2 separate regions of the Homo sapiens genome follow, and region 1 is linked to region 2. The links are contacts of gene promoters, found by promoter capture Hi-C in human tissues and cell types (Jung and others, 2019). All regions are on one chromosome and are shown on one strand. The core of a region is centred on a gene start or on the middle of the fragment in contact, and the rest is flanking DNA. Distances in the headings are between cores, read along the strand shown. Region 1 overlaps B3GNT6 (UDP-GlcNAc:betaGal beta-1,3-N-acetylglucosaminyltransferase 6). Region 2 holds the start of TSKU (tsukushi, small leucine rich proteoglycan).

What was found. The method cuts DNA at HindIII sites, captures the fragments that hold promoters and counts their contacts. A contact is called where the count stands out against the background at its distance.
Region 1: a fragment that was not itself captured here is called in contact with the fragment with the promoter of TSKU in region 2 in 1 of the 25 tissues and cell types used here (bladder).

What each region holds. Positions count from the first base shown.
Region 1 is chr11:77,040,030-77,046,258 of GRCh38, forward strand. B3GNT6 (UDP-GlcNAc:betaGal beta-1,3-N-acetylglucosaminyltransferase 6) reads left to right here. Exons shown (of 2, transcript NM_138706.5): 2 at 1-1,944. The coding sequence ends at 677. Among named protein-coding and RNA genes, the nearest start is that of ACER3-AS1, 7.5 kb to the left of the region's middle. RefSeq lists a silencer at 6,125-6,229. The HindIII fragment of the contact is 4,138 bases long and covers 974-5,111 here.
Region 2 is chr11:76,779,400-76,785,266 of GRCh38, forward strand. TSKU (tsukushi, small leucine rich proteoglycan) reads left to right here and starts at 3,957. Exons shown (of 2, transcript NM_015516.4): 1 at 3,957-4,005. TSKU-AS1 (TSKU antisense RNA 1) reads right to left here and starts at 3,663. Exons shown (of 2, transcript NR_120562.1): 1 at 3,604-3,663; 2 at 3,182-3,457. RefSeq lists enhancers at 3,194-3,383, 3,618-4,262 and a silencer at 3,814-3,903. The HindIII fragment of the contact is 14,629 bases long and covers 1-5,867 here.

The DNA of each region.
Region 1 (6,229 bases), core at 1,793-4,292, 260 kb after region 2:
CGGGCCCCGAGGACGAGGCGCGCGCGGAGCGGCTGGCGGAGCTGGTGGCGCTGGAGGCGCGCGAGCACGGCGACGTGCTGCAGTGGGCCTTCGCGGACACCTTCCTCAACCTCACGCTCAAGCACCTGCACTTGCTCGACTGGCTGGCTGCACGCTGCCCGCACGCGCGCTTTCTGCTCAGCGGCGACGACGACGTGTTCGTGCACACCGCCAACGTAGTCCGCTTCCTGCAGGCGCAGCCACCCGGCCGCCACCTGTTCTCCGGCCAGCTCATGGAGGGCTCCGTGCCCATCCGCGACAGCTGGAGCAAGTACTTCGTGCCGCCGCAGCTCTTCCCCGGGTCCGCTTACCCGGTGTACTGCAGCGGCGGCGGCTTCCTCCTGTCCGGCCCCACGGCCCGGGCCCTGCGCGCGGCCGCCCGCCACACCCCGCTCTTCCCCATCGACGACGCCTACATGGGCATGTGTCTGGAGCGCGCCGGCCTGGCGCCCAGCGGCCACGAGGGCATCCGACCCTTCGGCGTGCAGCTGCCTGGCGCACAGCAGTCCTCCTTCGACCCCTGCATGTACCGCGAGTTGCTGCTAGTGCACCGCTTCGCGCCCTACGAGATGCTGCTCATGTGGAAGGCGCTGCACAGCCCCGCGCTCAGCTGTGACCGGGGACACCGGGTCTCCTGAGGCCAGTTGGGCGGCTTCAGCCCCGGGCCTCCAACCATGTCCATGCTGAGAAGGCAGCTTTCCCGCTCTGGGTACCTTACGTCCTGCCCAGCTCTGTGCACCTGAACCCCAGCTGCGCACTGAAATCAGCTGGGGTGGGGGGTGTGGAAAATGCCTACATCCTGGCTCCATCTCCCGAAGTTTCGATTTGATTAGTCTGGGGTGGACCCAGACATGTTAAGTATTTTTTAAGTTCCTCCAGTGATGCGAATGTGCAGCTAGGCCTGAGGACCACTCGGCTAGACTATCTCTTCATCCTCGCAAAGCCAGCTCCACCGCCCTCTCTGCAAGAATTCCGGGCCCCTCGCTCCCACACTCGGGTCCTCTTGAGCAGTGGAGCAAGGGAGACCTGGGAGCGTGGGAGCCAGGATCAGCGCCCCCTGCCATGTGCCTACAAATGTCAGTTGTGATTTCCACTGTTTACAAGTGAGTGGAGCTGGAGCTGGGCTGACAGTATCAGGTGGATCCCGCTTCCCCCTCCCCCAAGAAGTCAGCCAACACGCAGCTGAGGCGCATGTGGTGGCCTTCTTCCCACCACTACCCCAGTACACCGTGAGGTAGAAATCTTCACCGTGCAAAGTGGAAACCAGAGGCCCGGTCAGACAGTGACTAATCCAGGGCCGTGGCATTCCCAGACAGCACACCACTGTGGTCCCCTCCACACTCACCCCAACCAAAGCTAATGGCCTAGTTGGGTCCTGCCCGCCAATAATCACCCCCACGGGTCAGAGACAGGCTCCTTGCCGGGGTCTGGGCCTCAGGCTCAGTGGGCCTTGGACAACCCAGCAGGGAGTTCCGGGGAGTCCGAAGTGGAGAAAGGCTGGTGGGAACATGGAGGCCAGTGTTGGGGAGCCTGTGGAGGCAGGTGTGTAGAATTGTGTTCGGGAGGTGGGGGATCTGAGACCGAAGTGGACAGTGGTTAAGATTGTGGGGCCGGGCGAGGTGGCTCACGCCTGTAATCCCAGCACTTTGGGAGGCTGAGGAGGTCGGATCATGAGGTCAAGAGTTCGAGACCAGCCTGGCCAATATGGTGAAACCCCGTCTCTATTGGGAGTACAAAAATTAGCCGGCCATAGTGGCTCGTGCCTGTAATCTCAGCTATTTGGGAGGCTGAGGCAGGAGAATCACTTGAACCTGGGAGGCGGAGGTTGCAGTGAGCCGAGATCGTGCCACTGCACTCCAGCCTGGGCGACAGAGCAAGACTGCATCTCAAAAAAAAAAAAAAAAAGGAGAGTTTGCAAGGGTGGGTGGGAACTTGGTGCCTGGGGCTCTGAGAACCAGGCTGTGGTCCTGACCTCCAGCAGCTGCCAGTCATCTTGGCAACATAGAAAATCAAGGAAACGGCCTAAAGGCAGGCAGAAGTGTGTGTCAGCAAGGTCCCAACTATGTAAGATGGACACGAGGGACTCACCTTCAGGGAGGAAAGAGCCGGGGCAGAACGTCAGGAGACTGGCCAAAGGTCCTTCCCTGCCTTCAGGACGAAGACTAGACTCCTCAGTCCTGCATTTCAGGCTCCTGCCACCCGCCTGCTGCTCACTGATCCCTCCCTCCCACTGTCAGCCTCCATCCAGGTGGCAGTGCCTGCGCTTTGTCAGGCTCTCTCTTGTCTCTGCATTTTGCACAAGCTCTGACCTAGTTACCGAAATGTCCTCCAACCACCTCCATCCTGCATGTCTCTTGCACCAGTTAGGACGCCTGTCGGGGAAGCTGCCAGCTGCCCACCTGAGTCGGCTGTTCCCTTCCTCCTGGGCACTCACCTAGACTCCATTTCCCAGCACTCCGTCCCCTGAAGTTAGATGTGGCCCTGTGACTAGGCCCTCATGGATGGACGGGAGTGGATGAGGATCACTGTGGCACCTGGGCCTGCTTATGCTCTCTTCCTCCTTCCCATTCGCTGGAACATGGATGGGCCTGGGACCCAGCTCTGACTTTGCAAGTGAGGACAATGCTTCAGGCCCAAGTGGAAGTTTCTCAACTACTGACATTTGGGGCAGGACGGTTCTTTGTTGTGGGGGGCAGTCCCGTGCATTGTAAAACATTCAGCAGCATCCATGTCCTCCACTCACTAGATACCAGTATCACAGCCCAAGTCATGACACCCAAAGTATCTCCAGACGTTGCCAAACATACCCTGGTGGGAAAATTCACCCTAGCAGAGAACCGCTGGCCTAGAGGAAGGCAGAGAAACGAGGATTCCTGAGTTCCTGCACGGAGCAGAGCAGCCCGGGGACCAACCTGGAATACTCAGTTCAGACTACTGAGGAAGACAAAATAAACTTTTATGCTTTTAAAAAAAATTATGGACAGAACAATATAGACAAAAACTTTTATGATTTTTCAGCTTCTGGGGTTTGTCTACTGTTACAGCAGCCTTGCCCTGCTAGTGTTTTAGTCTGTTCAGGCTGCTGTAACAAAAATACCATAAACTGGGTGTCTTACAAACATTTCTGAAAGTTCTGGAGGCTGGGAAGTCTAAGGTCAAGGTCCCAGCAGGTTTGGTGTCTGGCGAGGGCCCATTCCTCACTGCCTTCTTGCTGTGTCACTGCATGGTGGGAGGGGCAAGCAAGCTCCCACGGCCTCTTTTACAGCGGCCCAGATTCCATTGGTGAGGGTTCTGCCATCATCACATCATCACCACGTCACCTTCAGGGCTAGGATTTCAACGTAAGAATTCCGGGGGGCCGGGTGTGGTGACTCACGCCTGTAATCCCAGCACTTTGGGAGGCTGAGGCGGGCAGATCACGAGGTCAGGAGATAGAGACCATCCTGGCTAACACAGTGAAACCCCGTCTCTACTAAAAATACAAAAAAATTAACCGGGCATGGTGGCAGGCACCTGTAGTCCCAGCTACTCGGGAGGCTGAGGCAGGAGAATGGCGTGAACCTGGGAGGCGGAGCTTCCAGTGAGCCAAGATCACGCCACTGCACTCCAGCCTGGGCGACAGAGCAAGACTCTGTCTCAAAAAAAAAAAAAAAAAAAAGAATTCCGGGGAAACATAAACATTCCAACCATAGCACTTAAGTCACCTGCTGTGTCCCCTTTCATCCCTTGTTTTTCACCAAGTAGACTGGCTGCTCCCAGAGGGAGAGGCCATGTCTGATTTACATCAGGGCTGTCACAGATTTACACAGAGGGAATCCGTGGCAAGTCCCATCACTCCCACTCCTGGAACTTGAGTAGGTCATCTCACCTCTCTGAGCCGCTCTTTCTGATAAGATTTGGCTCTGTTTCCCCACCCAAATCTCATCTTGAATTGTAATTCCCACATGTCAGGGGAGGGACACGTAGGACTGGACAGGCGGGAGGTGATTGGATCACGGGGTCGGATTCCCTCACGTTCTTGTCGTGATAGTGAGTTCTCGCGAGAGGTGATGGTTTTAAAGCGCGGCACTTCCTCATTCTCGCACACACGCCCTCCTGCTGCCCATGAAGAAGGTGTCTGCTTTCCCTTCGCCTTCCGCCATGATTGTAAGTTTCCTGAGGCCTCCTAGCCATGCTTCCTGTTAAATCTGCAGAACTGTGAGTCAATTAAACCTCTTTCTTTTATAATTACACAGTCTCAGGTAGTATTCTTTATAGGAGTGTGAAAATGGACTAATACACTTTCCACAGTGATGTTCCATGCCAGGGCCATGTAAATCCTCTGTAAACCACATAGGAGGGTACTGTCATTCTGCAGGCTTACTGGCAGCTCTGAGAGGTTGAAGGAAGCAGGAGGAGGTGGCACTTCTGTGACCTTTCTGCAGCCCTTGCCGTGGGCCTTCAGTAGCCACAGCCACTTGTCACTTGCTGATCTATTTTCTGAGCAGGCCATAACAAATACTCCTACATGCTTTTGGGGTGAATGGATGAGTGGATGAGTGCCATCTGTCCCAGTGATGTGGACTGTATCTGTTAGGACAGCAGTCCCCAACCTTTTTGGCACCAAGGACTGGTTTTGTGGAAGACAATATTTCCACAGACCAACGTGGGGGATGGTTTGGGGAAGATTCAAGTGCATTACATTTATTGTGCACTTTATTTCTATTATTATTACATGGTAATATATAATGAAATAATTATACAACTCACCATAATGTAAAATCAGTGGAAACCCTGAGCTTGTTTTCCTGCAACTAGACAGTCCCATCGGGGGTGATAGGAGACAGTGATAGATTATCAGGCAGTAGATTCTCATAAGGAGCAGGCGACCTAGATCCCTCACATGCGCAGTTCACAATAGGGTTCATGCTACTATGAGAATCTAATGCTGTCGTTGATCTGACAGGAGGCGGAGCTGAGGTGGTAATGCACGCGATAGGGAGCAACTATAAATTACAAATGAAGCTTTGCTCACCTGCCGCTGTGCAGCCCGGTTCCTAACAGGCCACAACCAATACCGGTCATTGGCCCAGGGATTGGGGACCCCTGTGTTAGGATACTGTACTAGTTCCCTATTGCTGCTGTAACAAATTCCCACAAGCTTGGCTTAAAAGCACACTCATCTGTTACCCTACAGCTCTACCCACCAACTGCACTCCTTACTGGAGGTGCTAGGGAAGGATCCATTTCTTTGCCTTTTCCAGCTTGCAGAGACCTCCTTCCTCCATCTCCAAAACCGACCATGTGGCGGCTCTTGGTGCGTTGCTTCCACAGCCACATCACTCTCTGACTTTCCTGCCTTCTCCTTCCACTTCCAAGGACCCTGTAACTACACTGGGCCTACCTAGATAACCTGGGATTCTTTTCCTATCTTAAAGTCAGCTGATGAGCAACCTTCATTCTACCTCCAACCTTACTTCTCTTTGCCATGTAACATGGTGACATGCCACATGTAACATTCTTATGTAACATGCATCAGTCACAGGTTCCAGGTATTCAGTAGGGTATGGGCAACTTTTTGGGCGGCCGTTATTATGCCCACCACAGTGCCCAGTCAATATTTGTGGAATAAATCAACAGTAATGAAATAATGCACAAAAATGAATCAAACAAGGGTGCTTCTTCCACACAGACCTCCATGATGCGAGCTCTCATTCTGGACTACTGAGTGACATTAATTCTGAATTCCCTGCCCCTAGCTGCCATTTGTCAAGGGCTTGCAAGAAACAGGAAAACAAGAATGCTGAGGCCAGAATGCGGACAGGTCCTCTGGAAGGTCCGAATTGTGCTTTGACACAAAATCACACAAAAAATGCTTTTACAGCCTCCTCCCATTTCCCTGACAGACAGGCGGATTATCCCCATTCTATTCCTAGAGATGAAGATTCAGGACCTTGCCGGCCCCGAGACTCAAGAAGCCGCCGTTATGGGTCGGCTGGGTGACTCTGGGTCCTGGCCACCCGGTCTCTGAAGCTGGGTTGCACGCGTGTCCAGGTCCACGGAAGGCTGCAGTACCCGCGCAGCCCCGGCATCACCTGGCGTCACCCGGCGCCACCTGGCGCATCGCTCCCCACGGCACTGGCCCGGCGCTCCCCGCTCCGCTCGTTCGGCTCATGCGGCCCGCGGCCGCCAGGGGGCACGCCCCGCACCC
Region 2 (5,867 bases), core at 2,707-5,206:
AGCTCTTCTTTTCTGCTATTTCCACACATGGTCCTGATGCTTTATTAACTTAAGACCTGCCAGCTTCTGATAGCTGAAAAGAAGAAAATGCAGCAAGAAAAATAGAGATCCTGGAGGCTCATGGAGATACATTGGATCTGAAGGGTTTTCTGGTCAGGGCTTGATCGCTATAATGAAGGACAGAAAATGAAAGACCTGTCTCAAAACATGGAAAATGAGCAAAGCGGCTGAAGGGACGAATAGTGTCTTCTGACCTCCACTCAAGGGCTCTTCGAGAAAAGAGATCTTCCAACAGATCACCCGCAGCTTCAGTATGGCTGTTCAGGTAAGTCAATTAAAATCACACCACGACCAGACATGGTGGCTCACACCTGTAATCCCAGCACTTTGGGAGGCCAAGGCAGGAGGACTGCTTGAGCCCAAGAGTTCGAGATCAGCCTGGGCAAGATGATAAGACCCTCGTCTCTACAAATAATTTAAAAATTAGCGAGGCACATGGTGGTGTGCCTGTAGTCCCAGCTACTCAGGAGGCTGAGGCAGGAGGATCCCTTGAGCCCAGGAACTCAAGGTGGCAGTGAGCTATGATTGCACCACTGCGCTCCAGCCTGGGTGACAGAGTAAGACCTCATCTCTAAGCAAATAAATAAAAGCACACAGCACCCTATGGCTTATAACACATTTGCATCTGTATTGATTCATTTGATCACCCCGATATCCCTGGGAGATAGGGCTTCTTATTTATCCCTATTTTACAGGTAAGGAAACTGAGGCTTAGGGGAGAAAATGACTTACCCAAAGTCCACAGTTAGCCAGGGATAGAGGAGTGATGGTTTGCACCTGGGATCCTTAGATTCCCAGGCCTTTCTGCTACACCACCTCTGCTCTTTGTGGAGATTAAAAGGCAACAGAAAGAGCACTGGAGCCCTAAATGTTGTGCCAGCTCCGCAGAGAACATGCTATGTAACCCCAGACAGATCTCTTGCCCTTTCTGGGCCGCACCACTATCCATCTAGTGTGGTTGTTTGGATTAAATCATGATCTTAAAAGTATCCAGCACAGTCCCTGACATGTCACAGTGGCCAAGATGATCACAAGAAGGGGAAGAGAACGGTGAAAATGATGGTGCTTATATACAAAGGACATGGCAATATCACAGATGGAGAGGCCAACTTCGCCAGAGAGAGGACTCCCTGGGGGCGAAGACACTGAACAGACATGAAGAATGGAGAAGGTCCACCTCCCTTCCCTTACTTCTAGGTGACTAGGGGACTAAAACTTGGGATGTGTAAGAGGGGGTGGCCAGAACTGATGCTGGAGAGTTAAGGTGAGGTGGGGGCATATCACATAGGCCTTGAATGCCACACCAAGCAGTTTGGCTTTTGCCATTGAAAGGTTTTAAGCAGGCAAGTGTCATGATCCATTCTGCAGATCTGCAGTTTAGAAAGGGCACTCTTGCTGGAATGTGGACAGCAGACAGAAGAGGAGAGTCTAGAGGCACAGAGACTCTCAACTGGAGGCACAGTGATGAGGGGAGGTGGGTAAAGTTCATGGAGATCCACCAGCTGAAGCCCCTCAAGGCCACCTCTCCCTAAGGGGAGGTCAAGGGAAATGATGAATGTGAAAGTGCTCAGAAACTGCTGCCAGCTACCAGCCAGTGTGAAGGGTTGTTGATTACTTTTATGTTAAATGTGAGGCCTGGAGCCTCCAGCCCAGCTGGCTAGAACCTGCACACACAGTGCAGTGGGAGTTAGCTTCCCTGAGTTCCCGGGCAGTTGGGTATTTTCATCTCCAGTTCTCAGATGCTGAACTTGAGACTCGCTAAACAATTCCACATGGAGGAGAGGATGGAAATCGTTAGTCTAGGGCAAGGGGAGGGGGGCGCCATTCCTTCAAAAGAATGTCCCTATGGGAGGGGAGGAAGCAGGAGGAATATAAGCTAGACAAGCCAGGGAGTCCAGAGGTCATTCCCGGGCACCCTCCCCTCCCAAGCCTGCTGGGCTTTCCAGTCTCTACCCCAGTCCCTGACGGAAGACATTTAGCAACCACACAAAGGAGCTTCCTGTGAGCCAGACTAATGCTTTACCTAAATTACCTTGTTTATTCCTCACAATAGCCTCTTCTACAGTTGCAGACACTGAGTCTCAGAGAGGTTAGGTAACTTGCCTAAAGTTACCCAGAGCTGGTAAGTGGCAGGGCTGGAACCTGAATCCTGACCAAGCTTGGCCCTCACCCGATGCTGATTGCAGGTCTCTCTCCCATCTAGGCCAGGAGCCTTTAGAGAGGGGAGGGAATGGGAGGGTGGGAAATGGGAGGGGCCCGACTCCTCTCTATGGGTCCCAGGGGTTGTGGAGTTGAATCCCTGCAGCCCTTTTAAGCCCAACAGTGAGGAAGACACTGGATACCAAAGGGCCCATGGTGCCATCCCAAAGACTGATAAGGAGTGTGAGCTGGATGATCACAGAAGGACTCCTAGTTCTGAAAGCTGGGATTCTAATCAGGAGAGGACAATGAATGGAGAGGAGAGACGGGAGTTCTCCCTGCTTCCACACATATGAGACCAGGCTCCTAGCCTTTTCTCTGCACATTCCTAACTGGCAGGGTCCACAGGTGTCAACCCAAGTGCATCCCCAAGACCACACAATGGCTCTGAGTGCAGAAAGGACCTGCAAGACCAGTTTGTTTTCTGGGCAGCAGATGATTTTGCTGGCCTGAGGCCTGGGGCAGTGGTCTCCACTCCTACCTCACCACCTCTCTAGTGTCTTCCTTCTTCCCCAAGTAGACCGGCATGCATGCACACACAGGCCCAAGCAACTCCTTTTTTTTTTTTTTTTTTTAATGAATAAGAAAAAGTAATAAGGAAAGAAGCAGCAAGCAGACTGGGTGTGTTAACAAGTCTGGGCCACTGCAGGAGGTACATTGCCCAATTTCTGCACCCCGAGGCCCTCCAAAGTCTAGGAGAAGCTCCTGGGAGGTCCAGGGCCCAAGACCAAAGCCTCTATCAACTCTCCCACCTGTGAACTGCCCCTCTCCCAAGGTAGGCATTGTCGGGGTGTGTAGACTGGGAGCCACCCACACACCTGACTCTCCCCTCCTAGGAAATGCGTCCACCAGGTCATTTCTCCTGCAAACCCTCATTTTAAAGTGTCTTGGATGCTTTCCTGCCCTTTTTTTTTTTTTTTAACATAAAGAGGGGTGAGAGCCCAAGAGCTACAGCAGGGGGAATAGACTGAAACTGCTGCCTACTCACACGCCAGTTTCCCTTCTTAGAACTCTAACCAGAAGCCAATGGTTTCCTCCTAAAAGAAAAACTCAATCTGTTGACTTTCTCTCTCCTCTCCTGCCAGCTTTTCTGCCCGAGCCGGGCTCTCTCTTCTCTGTGGGTTCGTCTTTCAGCCAGTCTTTCTCTGCTTCAGATTCTTGGTTTCTTGCTCCCGGTAGTCCCTGAACCTCTTTCACTCTTTAAAAAAAAATGGGGAGGGGCGGTGAACAAGCAAAGAGGAAGCCCTCACCCACCCACCAAATCTCTTTCTTACTAGCAACTAATTCCCTCTCTCTTTCCACACACACAGTCATACACACACATACACATACACAGGCACGTACTCCGGCGACCTCCAGATGTTCCCGACAGTGCGGCCATCTGCTTAGATTGCTGGGGCGCGCAGGGGGAGGGGGCAGGGATCCGGGATGCAGGAAGCTGTGAGCGAGGCCAACTAGAGGGGGCGGGAGCAGCGCACTTTTGAGACGCTCCCTAGAGTGGAACCCGGGCTCGGCTCAGGCTCCGCGGGCGGGGCGCGCGCCGAGAGAGGCTGGCACTTTGGCGACACTCCCTGAGCCGCCCCGCGGCCGGCCCGAGCCGCCACCCGGCGCCCGGCAGGGGGGAGCCTGGCTGCGGGCGGGGACCGGGGGGCGGGCCGCGCCGCGCGGAGAAAAGCGCTGGCCGGAGGGCCCGCGGCCGGGCCGCCGGGGTGAGCGTGCCGAGGCGGCTGTGGCGCAGGCTTCCAGGTGAGTGCAGTTCCCCGGGCGGGGCGAGAGTCCGCGCTGCGGTTGAAGATCCCAAGTCCCCGATCCTAGCCTCGCGGCCCCTTCGGAGGGCGGGCTGGGGACGCCGGGCGCAGGGGCGGGGCTGGGTCCCGCCGAGGCCCCTCAACTTTCGTCGGACGCCTAGGGCTGGGCGGGAGTGGGGAACGCCGACCCAGGGGAGAGGTCTTGCGGGAGACAAAGGCTACGCCCAGGGGCCGTGTGGGTCTTTGTGCGGACACGTGCATCTCACGTTTGTGGGTCTTTGTGGATTTGCGGTCGGGGACGCGCCGCTGTCGGTGCCTTTGTGTGTCCGTGGCTTTGCGCGGCTGCTTTGCGCCCGTGTCCACGTTTGCGGGCCTGCGCTTGGCTGTGGGCGTCGGTGGGCGCATCGCGTGTCTCCGCGTACGTGGTCGGTGCCTGCCGACGTGTCTGGGCTGGGTGTCCGCAGAGGGTGTGCGCACCGAGAGCCCAACGCCGCCCCACCCCCCCGCTCCCCCGCCGTCCCCTCGGGCCCACGACTTGGCTCCAAACTTTTCTCCCGGTTCCTCGGGCAACAGCCCCAGTCCTCCCCACCGCTACCCGGCCGGGGGCGCAGACAGCCCTCCCCCTCCCCCTCCTGAGGTCCCAGGACAGCAAGGGGCTGCGACGGGATTGGTGGTCGGGGGATCGGCAGCGCCTGGGGACTGGCTGGGCAGGGGCTGGGCGGAGCGTGCGGACTCCCCCTCAGACCCCGGCTGGGAGGAAGAGGCGAGCGGTGGGTCCCAGGCTCCGGCCCTGGGCTGGGGAGAGGAAGGGACAGGGCGGCTGGCGTTGCCCTCCCCGCGCTTCTTGGAAAGAGTGTGATCCAGAGTTGCGTCTGTTTGGTAGGGAGACAGGCTCCGCTTTGAGACCCACTCTCCGTTTGCAGCCCGCCCCCGGGGTAGGGGGCCAACCCTCGGACCCGGTAGGGGAGAGGGGGACTGCCAGTCCAGATCTGGGCATGCCCGAGGCGCCGGCTCACAGGACCCGGAGCTGGGCTGGGGGCCGTGGGAGCCTCACATACACAGGTTTCAACTGGGACGGCCACTGGCCCCTGTGCGGCGCTGGCAAGTTGCTCAGCTTCGCGGAGTCGCGGTCACTCTGGCACGGACAGGGCGAGAACTCCCTCGCGGCTCGGGGCGTGCGGTGGGAATAACCCGCGCCTCTGGAGCCGGGCGGAGAGCAGCGCCAGCCCACACTTGGCCTGGCGAGGAGGTGACTCAAGACCTTCGATTCTTCTTTCATCTTTGTGCGCCCTGCCCTTCGGATAAGTCTAGACTTGCAGTGCCTGGGGCTGACCGGAGGTGGGGGGGGGGGGGTGCTCAGAGCTGCAGGAGCCTGCTGGGCTTTTGAGCCTAAGTCGCAAAGATAACCGTAAACACCCTCCTCCCCACTGCTCACTCCAGTCTTTAACCTAGAACTTTGTCGGATGCTGCAGACATGATGGAAGGGCACAGGCCGCTAACCTGGGAAAGAAACAACTGTGGGCATTTTCCTTTCCCTCTCCGGCCTCAGTTTCCCTTCTGGAAGGGGAGGTATTGATAGCCTCTTCTGTTCTGGCTGACTGCTTCAGATCCCAGAACCCAGAAACACTTTGATGTTTAACCTACACCTCCATTCTGACCTGACCTATTCCGAGGCACTACTTTGCTCCCCAGGAAGGCTGCAATGCAACCGCCACCGGGCTTCCACCTACCCTTCCTCCAACACCAGGAAAGGCAAAAGCTGATAAATGAGTCAAAAATGGAGAGGGAAGGGAGGGGGATTGACCTTTTCTCCTCTTACTTTTTAAATGACAGTTTGTGGTGGTAAAGTCCAGATCAGTC